2 separate regions of the Homo sapiens genome follow, and region 1 is linked to region 2. Evidence: promoter capture Hi-C in human tissues and cell types (Jung and others, 2019). All regions are on one chromosome and are shown on one strand. The core of a region is centred on a gene start or on the middle of the fragment in contact, and the rest is flanking DNA. Distances in the headings are between cores, read along the strand shown.

Region 1 (2,870 bases), core at 295-2,794, 280 kb before region 2:
TGCCACAGGCTTACGGTGTGGCCGGGGCAAGTCACTCCTCTCACCTGCCCGCCCTGGCCTCAGTTATCTCATCTGAAATGGGATCATCATCCCTACCTCACAGGGCTGTGGCTTCATGACTATTACATGGGCTGTATGAAAAGTGCTAGTACACAGTACGAGCTACATGGGTGTTTCCCTATATTGCTTTTACTCAAGAGGAAGGGAGGACACTGTGTGTGCCAGTTGCTTTTATAGACATAATTTAATTTCATCCTCACAAGCTGAGAAGTTTCTTTAGCCCACACCTGCCCCTTTAGTTTGTCATAAGGGAAACAAGCACACACAGGACACCCGCCCTTCAGAAGTTTGCGGCGAGGCTCAGCAGAGGGGTGTTTGTGAAGGCGCTCTGCAGACTGAGGGGCTGGGCCATGCTGGTTATGATTTGGCCATTATGAACACAAAACCTCTGCTTGCACACCTCCAGGGACAGGGAGCTCCCTCCTTTCCATCAGCTTACTCTAGGGGGCTCAGGTCCACCCTCTGCGCCCTGCCTCTCCTTCCATCCTCCTGCTCCCAGCTGCTCTGCTGCCTCTGGAGGTCAGATCCCGCCTAGTGTCAGCCTGGCTTTCATGCCCTGGTCATCCAGGGCAGCGGATCCCCTGGTCAGCATCATGAGAGATGAGCTCCCTGGTGGGCAAGAAAGTTAACTACTTTTGCCCAAGTAGAGCGACTGGATCCTGAATCCACCTGGCTCCAGGGTTTGCATGCCACACTTGCCAGGGTGGGGGTGTGTCCCAAGGAGCAGCCAGGACCGGTGGAAGGAAGTGAGACCGGTCATCACAGCACGCTGCAACCAGTCTGTCCTCCACTGGCTCAGAAAGCACAACCATGCTCTGAGTTGAGACTCAAGAGGGCAGGTCTCATCAGCATAAGGATGGACTTCTTGCAAAGGTGCCCCACAGCACAAGCAGCTCCCTGGGGGAGAAAGAGTCCCCTCCTAGGAAGTGTGTCAGTACTTTTTCATTTTACTGTCTACTGCGCTGGGCACTCTGGACACACAGTGACATCAGATCCAGCATTCACTCTGGGGATCCCCAGTCTGGGGGTCAAACGACACCCAGTTGGAACACAGAAGGTAAAAATTCCCAGGTAGGGCTCAATGGGTATCCTCCCTTCTCGGCTGAGTCTAGGCACTTCAAGCCAGGGGTCATGATGCAGATTGAAGGGCCCAGCCTATAGAAGCTGACTCGAACATGCCACCATCACTCTTTTACACACCCACATCCACTTGAAGCCATTACCCAAGCACCTCCTCCGCATCCTCCCCATCTCAGACTTGCGGACACCACGCAGCCGGGTCAGCCCTGCAGCCTAAGCCTTGCCCCATGCACCTGGCACTTACCTGGCCATACCCTCTCCCAAGTGCTCCGCAGCTGCTGCTCTCACAGGTATCACTCCCGTTTGTGCCTGCCGCCCGCACCCCTGGCAGCCCAAGCTCCAGTGTTCATGCTGCTCTGCCCAGACTCCCGTTTGCTGTTCGCTCGGGCTCAGCTGCGGGAGGACAAAGGGGCTGGACGCCAGGAGGGAGGGGAAGGGAGGGGAAGGGAGAAGCGAGCAGGGAGGGGGATGCTGGGCTTTTGTTCCACTCTTGGACTAGCCCTGGGAGGGAGGGAAAGAAAGGGGGGGCATAAGAGTGGGATTGACTGTGTGTGGAACTCCAGGATTTGGTATGCCTGGGTTTGGGGGTGACCTGGTGCTGGCCTTGTCCCGGAATGACGATGGGTTCGAAGGTGTGTGGTGCTGGAGTTGGGGTGTGGGAGGGGTGTCATCATGCAGTTGTAGGCATGTAGGTTTCAGGGTGACTATGCGTGATTGTGGAAGTACATGGAATGAAGTGACTGTGTAGCATTGGGCTGCGTGTGGACATGTGGCTGTGTGACCATGTAGATGCCAATGTGACTAAGCATGTGGGGCGGGGGGCACAGTGGCTCTGAGTCTCATTCCCTTGAGCTCAGGGAGAGGCGGGAGCTGACCTCTGCCCCAGGAAGCAGAGCACTTGCCAGACATTCAGTAGCAGGGGCAGGAGGGCCGGTCCTCGAGGTTACTGTGGGGGCCCAGTGGAGCTTCCAACATTTGCAGAGGGCTCTTTTCTTTTTTACCTATAAGGTGCCAGAATCTCCTAGACCCCAAGAATTCTATCCAGAAGATCCCTGTTTGGAAGAGACACGTCCCTTGGCTCCCAGGAAGCATGGAGTTAATTTGATGCAGGCTGGAGCTGGGGCTCAGCTTCCCCCTTTTCCCTCAGGTCACACCCATGACCAGGCAGACTCTCAGGACAAAGAGGGGAGTTACAGGCCTGCTCTGACACCACCACTGACTCCTGCCCACAGACAGCAGAGGTCCCAAGGACTGGAAGGAAAGGACACCTGTGGTCCCAGGGCTGTACTTTGGCTTTCAGCTCAGGTGCCCCCAGTCCTGGGCATGGGCATGGGCCCTCCTCAGGCAGGTCCAAAGCTCGGAGAAGTCAAAGCCAAACTCCTGGCATGGGGAAGAGGCCTCCCTGTGCTGAGGGCTTGTCCCAACATAGCCGGGAGGTTCAGAATGCCTTCATGTGGCTGTGAGGGCACCTGCCAGTCCCACTCCCAGCCCTACATTGGACCCAGGAGCCCTCCCCCTCTGCGTGTCATTCCTAGCTTATGGGAGGCACACATATGCGCTGGGGCCAGAGTCTGGATGGGATTCTGGCTTGGCCTGTTCTAAGCTGTGTGGCTTTTGGAGGTCACTTTACCTCTCCAAGACTGTCTCCCCATCCACCATATGAGGATACCGGCTCCCAGCCACTGGCACCATGGCGGACCCAGGGAAGGGGAGGCACCATTCTGCCACTT
Region 2 (2,700 bases), core at 146-2,645:
GGATGGTGCTGAGCTACAGGGAGGAGAGCAGTGACTGGCAAGGCCAGAAGGGGTGCTAGGTAAGTTCTGTTTGTCGATCAGAGTGGTGATAACTTTCACTTTGTGAAAAGACATTTCTCTGTCCGCTTAGGATTTGTGCATTTTTCCGTATGTATGGTATACGTCAATTTGAAGTTGACATTTAAAAGGAGGGACTTAGAAGAACTGATAGGACATGGTGACTGGTAGAGGTGGATGGAGAAGAACAGAAGGGATCTAGTGTGACTCAGGTTTTGGCCTGAGCAACTGGGTAAATGGCATTACCCTTTACTGAGATGGGAAAGAGCAGAGGAGGAGTCAGTGGGGCAGAAGGGAGGTGGGGGAGGGAATCAAGTTCACCTTTAGACATGCTACGATGGAGGTGCCTATCAGGCATTCAAGTGAAGATGTCAAGGAGCCACCTAGAGATTCAAGTTTAGAGCCCCAGGGAGCAGAGCTGCAGATGCAGATTTGGAAGTCTTTGCTGTGTAAATACAATGCAAGGTGTGAGCCTGGATGAGATCTCAGAGAGCAGAAACTGGAGAGAAAAGAGAAGTCCCGAGGATGGAGTGGAGGAGGGGGACTCGAACAGCTGGCCTGGTGAAAGACGAGAGGCACAAAGGGAGCAGCCAGAGAGCTAGGAAGAAAACTGGGAGAGCATAGTGTCCAAAGGCCAAGTGGTTTCAAAGAAACGGGAATGATCAACCATATCTAATGCTGCCAATAGGTCAGGATGAGATCTGAGAATTGATTACTGGATTTAACATCATGGAGGTCACTAGGGAACTTGCCAAGGGCAGTTTTGTGGAAGGGTGATACCTGAAGTGTGGACCACCATTTGTGGTACCACAGATGGGAGGTGAGGACAGGAAGGCATGAAAGATAGCTCTTCCGAGAGTTTGCTGTGTGAGTGAGCAGAAAAATGGGGCAGGAGGTGGAGGACACAGTGTGGGTGGGGATTTTTAGGTGGGAGTTAGTACAGCATATGTGTGGAGGGGGAACAATGGACAGGACAAGGTTATCCTATCCATTGACCTTGGGGCCAGGTCATTGAATAGGTGGGAAGGGGGTGAGATTGCATATGCTTGGGGCTTCACCTGCCTAGTTATAGGAAGGACAAGATTTAAGCAATTGGGGAAAGGCAGCCATGCAGATAAGGCATTGCCTGAGAAAGTTGATAAAGGCTATACAACCCCTTCTCTTCCTCCTTCCTTAGCCAGGCTCCAGCAGGTAGATTCAAAGGTTTCTTGTAGGATAGAATTTCCTGCCTCAGCAGGGGCAAGGAGGCCTTGGGGCTGGGCTGGGCTGGGCTGGGTGTGGCACTCTCCCTGCCAGCTTCTACAACCTGGGGAGGGAACAAAAACCTGTGGGTGCCTCAGACCACAGCAGAGCTCACAGAACCTGCGGGAGCCAGGCTGACCCGCCAGCATGGTAGAGTTCGCGCCCTTGTTTATGCCGTGGGAGCGCAGGCTGCAGACACTTGCTGTCCTACAGTTTGTCTTCTCCTTCTTGGCACTGGGTAAGTTGGGCTGCACTGTAAGACGGGAGACCACCGCACTCAGGTGGGGCAGAGCAGCCACACCAGGTGCACACAGCACATTGATGGTGGCAAGACATTTATCCTAAAGGGGGCTTTGTTGCGCTCAGAGCCCCTGCCCAGAGAGAACTCCTGGGCCTGCCCAGAGGCTTCTTGGGGGTGGAGTGGGGTAGAAGTCACCGTCTGCTGCTCTGGGCAGGTTACTTACTCTTCCTGGCTTGCACTGTGGGTTCTCCTTTGGCACTTGGATGAAGACCAGTCTGCAGGCTGCCAAGTGGTGTGGGAAAGCCTCTGGGCGATGACGGGAAAGTTCTGGGCTCTGCAGCCTGCTCAGAGAGGAGAGATTTCCTTCTGTGCGCTCAGGGAGGAGGAAACTGGGGCTGGTAGTAGGGTAAGTGAGAGAAACAGGGAAAGAAAAGAAGGGTGGGGAGAAGGTGCAGACTGAGAGTGGACTGTGGAGTGGGCATGCTGGGTACCAGGAAACCCGGAGTCAGACTCAGCTGGGCAACTGACTTTAGCCAGCCCATGCCTGACCTCTCCAAGCCTCGACTTCACCATCTGCAGAACGGGGACAACAATGCTGGCCTTGCAGGGCTATTGTGAAGGAAATGAAGAAATGTGCTGACCTCTGCTTGGCACAGACCTGGCCTGGACCCTGGGCTGGGCTCACACTGGAGGGCATGAGCATGGCCCCTTACCCACCCCACCACTGATTTGTGGCCAGAGAGATCACCCTTGCCCAAACAATAGCTCTGCCAAAGGTAACATTTTCTAGGAGGGTCTGGATCTGTGGCTTGGGAAGGGAGAATGACTAGGAGTCCGTGGGGTTTTTCCTTTCATCTGCTGGCACCAGACAAGGTAGGAACTGCTGCTTCCAGGGCTGAGGTTCAGCCTGTACACAGATACCACTCTCCTGGTTGTTAAAATATTGACACACTCTGAACACATTGCTCAGTAGCCATCTCTCTTTCTCTCTCTCTCTCTCACACACACACACACACACACGTACTTCCTCAGAAACTCCCCCACAATTCTGTAGTGAAAAAACTCCCCCTTGGCAAAGCAGGCCCTCCAGGACCCTGCCCTAGCATCCCTTCTGGTTGAGCTGTGTCTCTGTTCTAAGGGTTTTTAGACATTTTACACAT

The links. Contacts are between HindIII fragments. The study calls those that stand out against the background at their distance.
Region 1: the fragment with the promoter of KLHL35 here is called in contact with the fragment with the promoter of MOGAT2 in region 2 in 1 of the 25 tissues and cell types used here (liver).

Annotation. Positions count from the first base shown.
Region 1 is chr11:75,431,659-75,434,528 of GRCh38, forward strand. It overlaps KLHL35 (kelch like family member 35), which reads right to left and starts at 1,545. Exons shown (of 7, transcript NM_001039548.3): 1 at 1,385-1,545. RefSeq lists an enhancer at 183-1,069. The HindIII fragment of the contact is 12,939 bases long and covers 1-2,870 here.
Region 2 is chr11:75,716,443-75,719,142 of GRCh38, forward strand. MOGAT2 (monoacylglycerol O-acyltransferase 2) reads left to right here and starts at 1,396. Exons shown (of 6, transcript NM_025098.4): 1 at 1,396-1,537. The coding sequence starts at 1,447. It overlaps LOC105369392 (a long non-coding RNA gene), which reads right to left and starts at 1,843. Exons shown (of 3, transcript XR_950316.4): 1 at 1,764-1,843. The HindIII fragment of the contact is 18,092 bases long and covers 1-2,700 here.